Regions from separate parts of the Homo sapiens genome. Here regions 1, 2 and 4 are each linked to region 3. Evidence: promoter capture Hi-C in human tissues and cell types (Jung and others, 2019). All regions are on one chromosome and are shown on one strand. The core of a region is centred on a gene start or on the middle of the fragment in contact, and the rest is flanking DNA. Distances in the headings are between cores, read along the strand shown. Region 1 overlaps LINC02134 (long intergenic non-protein coding RNA 2134). Region 2 has its middle 35 kb from the start of LINC02134. Region 3 holds the start of ABCC12 (ATP binding cassette subfamily C member 12). Region 4 has its middle 15 kb from the start of LINC02134.

Region 1 (3,330 bases), core at 101-2,600, 180 kb before region 3:
TGCTTCCTCTCTTTGGAAAAAGGGTGTGTGGGTATGCTGAAGGTTAATTTGGCAGAGTCTCTTACTGGAGGCTGAGATGACATTTCAGCTTTGACCTGTCAAGTCCTTGTGACTTTCCAGAAATTGATTTGGGTAATGACTTGTCATTATGAGTAATTAGCATTTGTGGAAGTCTGAGAAAACCTGCTTTTTTTTCTTTAGAAACTTTGCTACCCTTTTGACACTTCTACTGAGGTTTCACATTTGGTAAGGGGTCAGGTAAAATCATAGAAATGAAAGGTTATCCCTGAAAGAAGTGGAAGTGTTTCTATTTCTAGATCTATCTAGGTATAATTTCCAGACTAAATCAGATTGCCATTACACAGTTCAAGTTAAAGTTAGCATTTGTAAGTTAATATTTGAAGCAAATAAGAGAGATACAGTTTTCATTCCTTACTCAATATGCTTGACCATGCACCAAAGGGACCATGACTAATTACTGCTCCTAGGTATTCTTGCTGACTTATGAGATGTTGAAACTGGAATAAACCTTGTTCAGTCCTCTCATTTTACAGATGAAGAAACTGAGGCCTCTCAAAAGATAATGTGACTTTGTTTTTCAATATTTAATTTATAGTTTGGAGATTGAGCCAGGTGACCTTTAAAGTTTTTTCAAAATATGTGAAGTACAGAGCAATGTGTTATAAACAGTTCAGCACTTGTAGAGATTTTCTGGGTTCACAATAGTATTTTCCTTATTTAATTCTATTACAGCAAATTCTGGCATATTCACAAATGGGCTGTCTCCATTTAAACATAGTAACTACCTTATCTGTTTTATTATCAGGGATGCATTGTGCTGGAGTCTCAATCAAGTGCCTGGAAGCTGAACGTGAAAAACAGTGCTGCCTGGATTACAGAGATACTGGCCATAAATGCATTCGTGGGCTCTCAAGAAGCATTAGGGATGCCATGAAGGAGGGGCATTTTTACTTTGTGTCCTACCAAATTCACTTAATTATACATAGCAATGAGGAAAGTGTGGGAAACAGCAAATCTGACCTTAGTGTGCCTTTGACTAATCCAAGCTTATTGTTTGTGAGTTAATATTGTGAAATGATCCCCTGTGCATATAATGCAGTCATCTTCAAATAAAAATCTGTGGCTTCAGACCTCTCTTCCTTCTTTGCTTCTTTTCTTCTCCCTTTCTTCCTTTCTTTTCTTCTTGCTCCTTCTTTCCCTTCTTCCACTCTCTCCCTCCCTTCCTTCTTGCTTTTCTCCCTCATCTCTCTCTGTCTTTTAAATCTTTCCATTTTTATTTCTGCATATGATGCTGGGCTTCCTTCCCTGTGGCTCCCAAACTAGAAGAGCATTTATGAACCCCTGATATAATGTAGGGCTTCCCAAAGTGGAGTGATTGCAAGATGATCCATTGCTGTCAAGAATTAGATATTCTAGTTATATTTATTGTATCTACAATATGAAAAATAAGATTTTACAAATATATAATTATATTTTTACTAATGCCACAAGTGCTATAAGATAGTGGCATGAGATCACAGATGTTTGGGTTTGGATTTCTTAGATTTGATCAGAGCAATAAGAACTTCATAGAAAGTAAAAAAAAAAAAAATGTGTAGTTCTATCCCTAGATCTGAACAACTTGCTCTGTGATCTTCACCAAAACACTCAATTTTATTATTGTAGGTTTCATGCTAGATGGAAATGGGAATAAATCAAGAGTTTAACTCTCTTCTTGCAATATGCCTTTGTACTTTTCTCCAGCTGCCAAGTCAACTATGGCTTTATGAAGCCTTCCTTCTTAGCATGTTGCAAAAGCAGGTATTCATGCCAGGCACCACGTAGTGGGGCAGAGCTAGGACCAGCTTTTTCCATGTGAATACAGTAGATGACAATGATGACGACGACGATGATGATGGTGATGATGACAATGATGTGTGTGTGTGTGACTAATGTGGAGTTGTGCACATCTTTATACATCTGATAAATGTTTACCTCATGTCTCTGGTATGGCACTATGTGCCAGAGACATGAGCTACAAAGATGAATAGGAATGGGTTCCACTGTCTGGTGGTAGACACAGACAGACAGCTGCAATCGAGTGTGATAAGTTCCTCAACAGAAGTATCATGGGTGTGGCCATCACAGTGGGATTCCTAGAGGGGGTGCACAATACAATCTCCCCCAGTACACCAATGCTTTTCAAAAAATGTTGTACGTGGACCCTGGGAAACTTGCTGAATGTGCAGATTCCTGCCCCCCACCCCAGAACTATAGAGTATAGAATATCTGAGGAGGGAGACTGGGAATATGCATTTTTGGCAAGCTCCTGGATAATGAACAAATGGTCTAATGGAATATCTTTTAAAGTACCTGAAAAATCTACCATTTGAGCTGCATTTTTAGATCTTAGAGCCTTTTTTGGGTTGAAAAATCCCAATTTAAAGTGCAAATACAGGCCCCTGGAGGGAGACAGCCTGTGTCTTATTCTTTCTGAATGTGCCTCCCCACACTTGCCACCATGCCCAGCATCCTCTAGGTATTCAGTGATCAACGAGTGCATAGAAAGAGTGTGCCAAGTAGTATTTTGGGGAGTAGGAGAAGAGGGAGCAGGACAGACAGCTGTGTTTAAGCAATTGGGAGCAAGTTGAGGATCCTGGGTGACAAAATAGGGCAATTTGAATGGAGAGAAGGGCCCGAAAAGAAAAATGTGAGAGAGGTGAGGAAAAACATAGCCTGTTTCAGGATGTCCAACAGCCTTCATCAGGTGAGGCTAGAGACAATGAAGGATGGAACTTATCTTTAACTTTATATTCTATCACTTCCACCATTTTTATTAAGGTATAACATGATTTTAAAATAAGCGCATATTTTAAACTTAAGGATGAGTCTTATCAGGTTTGATATTCTGACTCCATAACCCAATAGCTGCATAACTTGGGTAAATCTTTAACTTCTCTAAAGTTTAGGTGGATGGTCTAATAAGTAGGGGTACTGATACCTGCCTGCCTCAGAGAATTATAATGATCAAATATCAGCTCCAGAAGAGCACGATTGTTGTCTGATGTTCACAGATGTGTTCCCAGCTCTTGGGACCCTGCCAGCACACTGCAGGTCCTCAAATAATGACAGATGAATGACTTCCAGTGACTTGTCTGATGAGGAAGCAGAATGTAGGAAGGCAAGTGTGCACTTCAGACACAAGCAGAGCTGGGTTTAGATCACAAGCCCTACCTCGGATTGCTGTGTGACCTCGGGCAAGTGACTGAGAATTCGTGACCCTTATTTCTGCGTAACATGGGAATGATCATATCTACCTTATAAGGTTGC
Region 2 (3,477 bases), core at 415-2,914, 230 kb before region 3:
AGAGATATATATTAAATATCACCAAATAAATATATCACCATTGTGGGTACGATAAATAACACAAAAGAAGAAAAAGAGGATGCAAAAACAGGTTATAATAATAGTCTAATTATTTGGTTTGGGGAGGTAAGAAAGGCCTTTTGGGGGAAGTGATGTTTAAGTTGAAGTCTGAAAGGTGAGTGGGAGTTAGTGAGACAGGGAATGGGGGAAATGTTCAAGGCAGATGGAGCACCTTAAGTCAGGCCCTGAGAGAGCAAAGACCTTGGTTTGTGTGAGGAAATGAGAAGAAGCCCAGTGTGCCTGGAGTTGGTGATGGTGGAGGAAGAGACAGGCAAGAAGTTTGGAAAAGGAGCTCAGATTTAATCAGGTTGGCCATGTAGACCTCGCAAAGAATTTTGGCTTTATCCAAATGCAATGGGAAGCTTTTGAGGCAGCATTATCCTATGAAAAGTTTCTGTGTTCTGTCATCTGGGCTGTCCTATATTAGCTGCATGACTATTGAACATTTGAAATGTGGCTAGTGCAATGGAGGAACTGAATGTTTAATTTTATTTCATTTTAATTAATTTAAATCTAAATAGTCACACGTGGCTAATGACTACTGCATTAAGCAGCGCAGCTTTGAAAGGTTTTATGGAAGAGAGCTACAAAATTGTATTTTCTTTAAAAAAAAATAATTCTGGCTGCAGCTTGGAGAGTGAATTGGAGGGGGTCAGGGGCAGGGGTGGGAGTGGAGTGGCCAGTTAGGAGCTTGGCCTGGAATGGGGGTAGTGGATGTGGGGAAATGTGTATGCACCACAGGCCTCAGTTATGGAGAGAATCTAGAGGGAAGGAGATGACAAGGGAGATCAGGTGGGGTCTGGAATGATGCCCAGGATCTTGGCTTGAGAAACTGGTAGATGAGGGTGCCACCACTCACCATGGCAGGATGGGCAGGAAAGGAGCATATTTGAGAGCTGGGATGGAGGAGAGGAAACATTTAGCTTTGTTGCTGGTGTGGTATACATACTGAGGTGCCACTAGGCAGCTAAATATTGGAGTCTGGAGCTTAGAACACATTCCATGGACACTCTAGGCCTCAAAGACTGAGTATCAAGAGAAGGAGGCTGAACATTACATTGGTCAAGTGTGAAAGAATTTGAGATAAATGGGATGAAGCATGGAGATAAGTTGAGGTTTTCAATTAACAATGTTCTCATTGCCTGCATTCTTCTATTACAAGCAATTAATGGGATATTAGAGAAACAGTTTATCCTGATGTATCTACTCACACATAACCATTTATTAAATATATAGTTGGGTAATTGCTTTCCAGTGTTTCCTAAAGCGTGGGCCAAACACTATGAGTGGTAGAGGAAATGATTTTAGGTAAACACAAACAAGAAGACATATCATAAGAAAGTTATTCTTTTTAAAAAATTTGTTTCCCCCTTCCAATGACAGAAGAAATTCTGTTTGTTGTAGGAATGTCCTGAACACTGAACACTTGCTAATCTCTATTTCAAACAAGGGGAAAATAGATCTCAAGCCCCCAGCCCTTCTCTTGGTAGGCAACAGAACTAGCTAGTTAAATAAAGTTATTATTTTAAATTTTTTATTTTTTGAGACAGAATCTCGCTCTGTTGCCCAAGCTGGAGTGCAGTGGCGTGATCTCGGCTCACTGCAACCTCCACCTCCCAGGTTCAAGCAATTCTTCTGCCTCAGCCTCCCGAGTAGCTGGGATTACAGACACCCACCACCACACCCGGCTAATTTTTGTATTTTTAGTAGAGACGGGGTTTCACCATGTTTACCAGGCTGGTCTTGAACTCCTGATCTCAGGTGATCTGCCAGCCTCGGCCTCTCAAAGTGCTGGGATTACAGGCGTGAGCCACCCCACCCAGCCATAACATTATTTTTTATTGTATTTATTTTACAGTGAATTTCTTTTTACATACTAAATATAATTATTTTTTATTTTGAAACAACTTCAAGTTTACAGAAAAGTTTAAGCAATTTACAAAATATTTTTCATTGACCATTAGCGGGTAAGTGATATGATGCCCATAACCCCTGAATGGTTGAGTGTGTAATTTCTGCAAACACGAACATTCTCTTCATAACCACAATCAATCATCAAAATATGAGTTACCATTCAAGCCCCAGACCCCATTCAAGTTTCACCAGTTATACCACATGTCCTTTATAGCAAAATAATCCAACCCAGCACCACTAGATTTAGTTAGATCTCTTTCGTCTTCTTCAATTTGGAAGAGTTTCTCTTTCTTTGACTTTTATGACCTTGACACTTGTCAAGATCACAGGACAGTTATTTTTAGAATGTACTACAATTTGCATTTGTCTGATATTTCTTCATGATTACACCAAGATAATGCATCTTTGGCAAAATGTCACAGAAGTTACGCTGTGTTCCTCCCATTGCATCATATGGAATGGCGTACGACATTGGTGTGTCCCATTACTTTAATGTTAACTTTGATTACTTGATTAAGGTGGTGTCTGTCAAGTCTCTACACCATAAAAAAGCTACTCTTTTATTCTTTGTAATTTATAAGCATTTTATAGGGAGATACTTTGATACTATGTAAATATCCTGTTCCTCCTCAAATTTTAAGGACTACTTTTGGCATCCATTGATGTTTTTTGGATGAATTAATCATTACTCTTGATAGTTGCCAAACAGTGAATTTCTAATTCTATCATTCCTTCTGCTGGGAGAAAAAGCTTTCTCTTTCTTCCATTTATTTATTTATATCTATATGGACTCATAGATTCTTATTTTATTCAACTAGTTATAATCTAATACTGTCATTATTTATTTTGATGTTCAAACTGTCCCAGATTTGACCAGTGAGAGCCTTTCCAGTCTGTCTTTTCTCCTTCTCTCAGGTTTCCATCATTCTCTGAGCACTCCTTGCTTTCTGGCACAAGATTCTCCAGGCTCTTCAGCTCCAGCCTTGACACCTGCCACTTCTCCAAAGAATCCTGGTTACTTTTGGTGGAGAATGGTATTTAGAAATTGTAAGAGCTGGGTGTTAAATGTGCTCATGGCTTTTGGCTCTTTCTCTCTCTCTCTCTCTTTCTCTCTCTCTCTCTCCACACACACACACAGACACACACACACTCTTATAAATACGTATACATATAAACATCTATATTTATTTTTAATTCTAGTTATCTCTCTGCCTATCATGAGTTCATACTGATTCCAACCTAATGCCACAGGTTTCATTCTCATTTCTCTCTTTCCATATTCTTAACTCCTTCTCCAACCACGAGAAACCTGGCTTCCATTAGCATTGTTTTGGAAAAACTCTCCTACTGTGTTTCTCCTCTGCTCTCACACCAGCACAACAACAATCAACAAAGAAAACTTTCATGACTCCCGAATATGTGGGGATTTCTCCCCACCAGCAAGCAAGCAGTTAATTCTGCAGTAGACACCAACTGGGTGTCTTCCAATTCAATTCTGACCCT
Region 3 (3,465 bases), core at 273-2,772:
CCTGGGCAGGGTATACATGCTTTAGTTTGCCACAATCCCCACCACTCCTTACTGTCTCTGTGACTCTGAGATTTGGGGTCATGTAACATTTATTATTGCATTGGCACTGCTGTCTTCCTTATAGTGTTTCCTGAGGCCTTTTTCTCTATCCTTGTCTCTGCCCCAAGAGAGAACAAAAGATGTCTAGAAGTCATCTCAAGAAGAACCATTTTCCACACCTGCCCACTTTGCTCTGTTATATTTCATTTCTGCCCCTGTCTAGCCCAGAAAATTAACAACTTTATGTTTGAGAACTGGACTCTGGGTCTTCCTTGGTGCTCATGATGGGAGTTCCTCCATCAACCAAAAGCAGGCACACCTTTAGTCATAAAATTTTTCCCAGGTATGAGACTACAGCCCTACTTCTTTCTTAATAAATCCATTGTTAATTTAAAGCCACCAAAGTTATCAATATCTGATGGTCTCCCCCAACTCCCACAGCCCCTTCCTCCAGGGCCTGACTGGCCTCCAGCACAGAGGAGACACTGGGGAGCTCTCCCAGGCCCTGCCTGCACCGCACCTCTCCTGTCTGTCCCCAGGTCCCAGGCACCTGTGGCAGCCAGATCAGAAAGCCCTGTGAGTGATGAGGGACTGGGGTTGGGAGGCAGGGAGAGGCAGAGAGGTGGCAGAGGGAAGTGCATGCAGGGGACAGCACCAAGCTGGGGGTGTGGGAAGGGAAGTGGGGGTGCTTTTGCTCAAGTACCCTCATCTCCCAGAAGGCCTAAAACAGTGGCCAGTGATGGCATCTCCAAAAGAGGTCATCCATCCAGTTACAGACACATTCCGACACGATCAAAGAAGGATGCAGAGCCTGGATTCAGAGCAATTCAAATCTACCCTCCCAGGAAAATAATATATTTAAAAGTTAAAAAAAAAAAAAAAAGAAAGAAAGATGAAAACCTCATATGAGAACTGCAGTAAAGCTTTCCAGGTCTTTTTTTTTGGGGGGGAGGTATAAATCCCATAATTAAATTGTGAACACTACCCTGTATATGTGTTTGTGTTTGTGCATGTGTGGGAAAAGACTTAAAATATTCAATGTAGGCTTTTGTATTTCAGAGATTTTGAAATCGCGTCTTGGCATTTCTGCCTTTTCTTTTATGATAGCGGGGGCTCCAAAAGTGGAAGAGGGGCTGCCTTTCTTCTGGGAGCCTCGTCCCTGCTGCCTCCCACTTGGGCAGCCCCATTCAGTGGTGTCACCTCCCCCAAACCCCCCACCACACACACACACAGCCTGTCCTGAGGATGAGAAACAAAGGCCCTTGGGACTAAATGGTGGCCACTAATTGTTACAGGGAGAAGCTTTACCTGGGCTGGAAATGAAGCTTTACCTGGGCTGAGGATGAGAGGGAGGGGAGGAGGGTCAGCAGTCATGGGGCTCAGAGCCTGGCATCTGCTGCCCAGGACTCCAGGGCCTGCTTCTCCCCAAGGACCTCAGATTCAGTTTCTCTTGTCCCACCCGCCTGAAGTCCTCCTCTCCAACTGCCCCATTCAACTGCCACTCCCACCACACCTGAGAGGGAACTCTGGCGGGCCAACATTCCCTCTGCCCACATTAAAGGGCTCTCCCCTCTTCCAGGATGGCCTGTGGCCGGGTCTGGCTCTTTGGTGACAGTCAGAGCCCATGCATGAAAGCACTGTGCATGGCCAGCCCTTCCCTGGCTGTCACAGCACATCCTTGTAGAAGAGAAGGAGAAAAATCCTCTCTCCAACCGTCATTCTACAGACGAGAAGCCCAAGGAACAGAAGCCTGTCCACGACTGGCGTGGGGCTGAGACCAGCACCCAGGTCCCCTGAGTCCCACTCCAGGCTCCTTCCTGAGAGAATGCATCGAATTTTCTACGCTGTGTTCCTGCAACCGGGAATCAACTTTGGGATCAGGGGAAGGGAAGGGAGGGGAGGGGAGGGCAGGGGTAGGGGAGGGCAGGGGTAGGGGAGGGCAGGGGAGGCGAGGGGAGGGGAGATGAGCCTCATCTTCAAAACAGAAAATCTCATTCATTCATTCCCCATTCATTTAACGAAAAAGAAAAGGGTAATTTGAGCTCAATTTGTCTTGAAATGAACGGAAGGTAAGTCTGAGACCTGCACTAGCAGCTAGCCCTTGCATAGAAAAGTTCCCCTGTGTCACCCTTGGAACCCTGCACATCCCGAGCGCAAGCGTGATTCCCGGGGTCCCTTCTGCGCCTGTCCCAGAACAAGCGCCCGATTTCAGGGGAGCCCAGCCGAAGGGTTCCACAGCGCTCAGCGAGCCGGCTGGGAGGGAGCAAACTCTCTAACTGCAGAAAAAAACAAATCTTGATTCCGCTTTAAGGGTTATTTAAACATCTTAGAGGACCTTCCCAGCCTCACGCACGTGGATTTCATGAGGAACTTGGCCGCTACCTTCTCCTGTCCTGCGCAATGCCGCCCCCTGCTGGCTGCCTTCCGGCCCCGCCGCTTCCTGGAGATGCGAATTCACCGCCTTTGCCCAACCTGAGTTCCCTTCCTACCTAGAGGGAGGTGGAAATGGAGAGGGGCTGTGGGCAGCTGTGTAGGAAAATGGGTCCTCCCAGGAAGGCTCCCCGGCCTGGGGAGTGAGCTAGACCGACAGCAGTTTCCTTACACGTGTCCAAAGTGTTCCATTTAATTTCCGTCCATTCTTCCCTTCATGAATGCAAATCACTGCTAATAATATCACTCGACATTTCTGGAGCCCTTTGTGTATCGCAAAATTCTTCATCCTCTTTATCACTTGATCTTCGCAACAACCCCGGGGGTCTCATAAACACAGCAAAGACTCGCTTCCACAATCTTCCAAACGGAGTCAAGTGCTGTCAAGTTTATGGAGGAAGAATGCCGATCAGTTTTCCTCTATCTCCATGAAAGGCTGGGCGGAGATGGATTTCCACCCAGACAAACAGTATTGGGCGCTACGCAAGAAGATTGGTGGGCCTAGCCGGAAACAGAGTGGAGAATGATGGAGAGGGACTGTCCGGTCTGTATCCAAGGAAGTCCTTAGGAAAAGACCAGCCAAGCTCCTGTTCCAGGCAGAGCGTGGACTCACCCATAGTCAGGGAACTGAGGCCCATCCTGGGTGTACACACAGCTCGCGGGGGGGCGAGATAATCCACTGGAATACAAAAAGAAAAAAAATAGAAATCCTTTTCATATTTCTCCTCTTCCTTTAAAAATTCTATTTTGGCTGTGTGCAGAGGCTCAGGCCTATAATCCCAGTACTGGGGGGCCAAGGCAGGTGGATCACTTGAGCCCAGGCATTCAAGACAAGCCTAGGCAACATGGTGAAACCCCATCTCTACTGAAAATACAAAAATTAGCTGGGCGTGGTGGCATGTGTCTGTAGTCCTAGCTACTTGCGAGGCTGAGGTGGGAGTATGAATTGAGCCAGGGAAGTCAGGACTGCAGTGAGCTGTGATCGTGCCACTGCAT
Region 4 (3,469 bases), core at 749-3,248, 200 kb before region 3:
AGTAGGATTTCATGTACTCAGTACCCACACCAGGGAGGCGTGCAGGACAGCCTGGTGGTTGTCTCCCAGTCACTGCACAATTACCTCTTCTCTGAGAACTGCCGCTCCCCGCCCCCAACTTCTTCTGTGCAGTGAGAAGGGCCATGTTCGTGTGGTGCGGCCATGCCCCACAGGCCAGTTGGTTGCCAGTCCATGGTGGCCAATGCCAGCTGGGTTGATTAGTCACTTCCTGTTAGAGACAGACGGAGCTAAGAGATGGAAGAGAGGCCACGTGAACCGGGAACTGGTGGTCCGTCCTGCTACCTTGTAGATAGGAAAGTAGGGCTGGCTGCTCTGTTGGGTGGAAAAAGAATGAAGTAGGCGTGCTGAAGACTCAGAGATGAAGTGCAAACTGGGCCCTGAGCTCCCTACAGCCCTTCACTCGTTGGCTTCTTGCCAGAGCCAACTCCAGAGAGGATCTGTTTGGAGCATAACCTACACAAAGGCAATCTGATTGAGCTTCACTGCTGAACACTCGCCCTTGCCAGCTCACCCCGGCACCTTCCTGCCCTCTCCTGGGTGCTGTTGTAATGCTTGATCACCAGGAGAGACAGCTGGGGCACACGCAGACGCTCCCGCTTCCAGCATGGGCCCTTCCAGATGAGACAGGTCTGCTCCGCTTCTCAAAATGGCAATTAGGGCCGGTTGGTGCAGCCCCATCTGGAGGCCCGGAAATCTCAACGTGCACCTGCCAATGCTGTCAGGAGATGTGAAGGCCTCTGCACCTCTGGGGTGTGAGGAAGGGTAGTCTCTGTAATGAGAGGAGGCAGGCTATTACAGTGCTTATAACTGCATTTCTGTGCATGGAGTGCCATTCTGCAGCTGAGCCCTGGATTGCTTTGTGCTTGCTCTCTGTGGTCCTCATGCTTGGAAAGGCATTTCTAAGAGGGGTACAGGATACCCTCCCCCCCGAGGAACGTGGAGCCCAGTATTAAAGTATTTCTAGAGCATAGGCTCTTTCTTGCCTAAAAGATACTGTGCATGACCCTGCGGGGCTTTCAGTTGGTCCAATTCTTTTTTTTTTTTGTAATCAAATTAATTTTATTTTTAGTTTTTATTTAATTTCATTTTTTTTGCAAACTCTTCTTTTAGGTTCGGGGGTACACATGCAGGTTTGTTACATGGGTAAATTGTGTGTCCTGGGGGGGTTTGGGGTGTAGATTATTTCATCATCCAAGTAATGAGCATAGTACCTGAAAAGTCGTTTTTCGACCCTCACCCTCCTCCACCCTCCACCCTCAAGTCGGTCCCAGTGTCTATTGTTCCCCTCTTTGCTCATTGTTTAGTCCCCACTTACAAGTGAGAACATGCAGTGTTTGGTTTTCTGTTCCTGCATGAATTTGCTTAGTATAATGACCTCTAACTCCATCCATGTTGCTGCAAAGGACATAATTTTGAGAGGTGAAGCCAGCTGGGCTTCCGGGTCAGGTGGGGACTTGGAGAACTTTTCTGTCTAGCTAAAGGATTGTAAACACACCAATCAGTGCTCTGTGTCTAGCTAAAGGTTTGTAAATGCACCAATCAGCACTCTGTAAAAACGCACCAATCAGCGCTCTGTGTCTAGCTAAAGGTTTGTAAATGCACCAATCAGCACTCTGTAAAAACGCACCAATCAATGCTCTGCATCTAGCTAAAGGTTTGTAAACGCACCAATCAGCACTCTGTAAAAACGGACTAATCACTGCTCTGTAAAATGGACCAATCACCAGGATGTGGGTGGGGCCGAATCATGCAATAAAAGCTGGCCACCTGAGCCAAAGCGGCAACCCACTTTGGTCCACTTCCAAGGTGTGGAATGTTTGTACTTTTGCTCTTCACAATGAATCTTTCTGCTGCTCACTCTTTGGGTCTGCACTGCTTTTATGAGCTGTAATACTCACTGCGAAGGTCTGCAGCTTCACTCCTGAAGCCAGCGACACCACCAACCCACAGGGAGGAACAAACAACTCTGGACCCGCCACCTTTAAGAGCTTTAACACTCACTGCAAAGGTCTGCAGCTTCACTCCTGAAGTAAGCGAGACCACGAACCCACCGGAAGGAAGAAACTCTGGACACATCTGAACATTTGAAGGAACAAACTCCAGACATACAATCTTTAACTGTAACACTCACCGCAAGGGTCTGTGGCATCATTCTTGAAGTCAGCGAGACCAAGAACCCACTGGAAGGAACCAATTCTGGACACAATTTTCCTCTTATTTTTAAATTCTTTTTATGCAAACCCTCTATTCTGGTCCAGGTGCTCCCCTTTGGGGCAGAGGATGAACTTGCCAGTTTGTTATGCTCTTCACTAATTTAAATTACCTGTCTAGCCCAGTTGGCACTCAAATTTGCAGTCCTGATTCAATACAGGGTCCCAATCACAAGTTCCACAGCATGCCCTGTTGTTGACGCATCCATGGATGTGTCAGCCTAGGCCTCCTTCTCTCCACCACCATGGAAGTAGATCCTCACAGCCTCTTAGGCATCCCCCTTCCCATAACATAGCTGATGGGACCATAATACCTTCCAGCCTAACTCTGCTACTAACTAGTGTCTCTGTGAGATGCTGCAGATCCACTGTGCAGTTAGGCTGGAAGGTATTATGAACTGCAGGGCTGTGGGGGTGAGTTGGGGATATCCAGGCTGGACTATGTGTGTGTGTGGAACAAATGCAGCTGGTCTGAGAGAAGTTGAGCTTGGAGAGAGCAAGAGGTAAGAGGCCATCCGCCCAGGATCTTGCTAACATTCCAGGTCCTTGGTCCTGTCTGTCTTGACAACCTGCCAAGTTTCCTATGTCTTGCATTGCAGGAGATAAATTTATAAGAAGCCTAATTTTTAATTGAGTTATAATTTATATACAATAATTGCTCCAATCTTGAGTTGCTTCTGGACGCTGGATGATGCCTGATGAACCACTTCCCCACGTGATGACTGTGCCACAGTCCTCCATTTGTTTACTATGCTGCTCCCAAGCCAGTGGTGCTCTCCTTCCTGTTCTTTGCTTTGTTGAGCCCTTCCCATCCACCATGAAGCCCTCACTGACTTCCCCAGCCCAGAAAGGTCTGCCTGCACTTTGAGCACAGGACTTGACTCTACAGGGAGGCAGTGCAGTTAAACAGGCTGAAGTGAGCTTCTCCTCATGCGAGGTCCGGACTGGGTGCTGGAGACACAAAGACAGACACAAAGACAGACACAGTCCGGCCTCCAGGGGTTCGCCACAGAGGAGACAGCCATGTAAAAACCCCAACCACAATGCAGTGAGACAGGTGCTAAATGAGAGCCTTTCCTGCTGTTAGGGGAGGCCAGGGTCCTCAAGGAAAGATGGAAAACAAGGTAACGTTGGAACTTAAGGATGGATGAAACTTTGCCAGGTACAAAGAGACAAAGAGACCCTGCATGTTTGCTTGCTAAAGAAAAATATATTCAGAAGCTTGTTAAAATGGTAAG

What was found. Contacts are between HindIII fragments. The study calls those that stand out against the background at their distance.
Region 1: a fragment that was not itself captured here is called in contact with the fragment with the promoter of ABCC12 in region 3 in 1 of the 25 tissues and cell types used here (adrenal gland).
Region 2: a contact is called between a fragment that was not itself captured here and the fragment with the promoter of ABCC12 in region 3, in 2 of the 25 tissues and cell types used here (H1 embryonic stem cells and dorsolateral prefrontal cortex).
Region 4: a fragment that was not itself captured here is called in contact with the fragment with the promoter of ABCC12 in region 3 in 2 of the 25 tissues and cell types used here (IMR-90 fibroblasts and lymphoblastoid cells).

The regions. Positions count from the first base shown.
Region 1 is chr16:47,970,537-47,973,866 of GRCh38, forward strand. It overlaps LINC02134 (long intergenic non-protein coding RNA 2134), which reads left to right. Exons shown (of 2, transcript NR_146502.1): 2 at 827-1,151. Among named protein-coding and RNA genes, the nearest start is that of LINC02134, 6.5 kb to the left of the region's middle. The HindIII fragment of the contact is 3,322 bases long and covers 1-3,011 here.
Region 2 is chr16:47,928,723-47,932,199 of GRCh38, forward strand. No RefSeq gene overlaps it. Among named protein-coding and RNA genes, the nearest start is that of LINC02134, 35 kb to the right of the region's middle. The HindIII fragment of the contact is 3,506 bases long and covers 1-3,417 here.
Region 3 is chr16:48,154,471-48,157,935 of GRCh38, forward strand. It overlaps ABCC12 (ATP binding cassette subfamily C member 12), which reads right to left and starts at 1,523. Exons shown (of 31, transcript NM_001393797.1): 1 at 1,371-1,523. The HindIII fragment of the contact is 12,201 bases long and covers 1,152-3,465 here.
Region 4 is chr16:47,949,275-47,952,743 of GRCh38, forward strand. No RefSeq gene overlaps it. Among named protein-coding and RNA genes, the nearest start is that of LINC02134, 15 kb to the right of the region's middle. The HindIII fragment of the contact is 8,848 bases long and covers 1-3,469 here.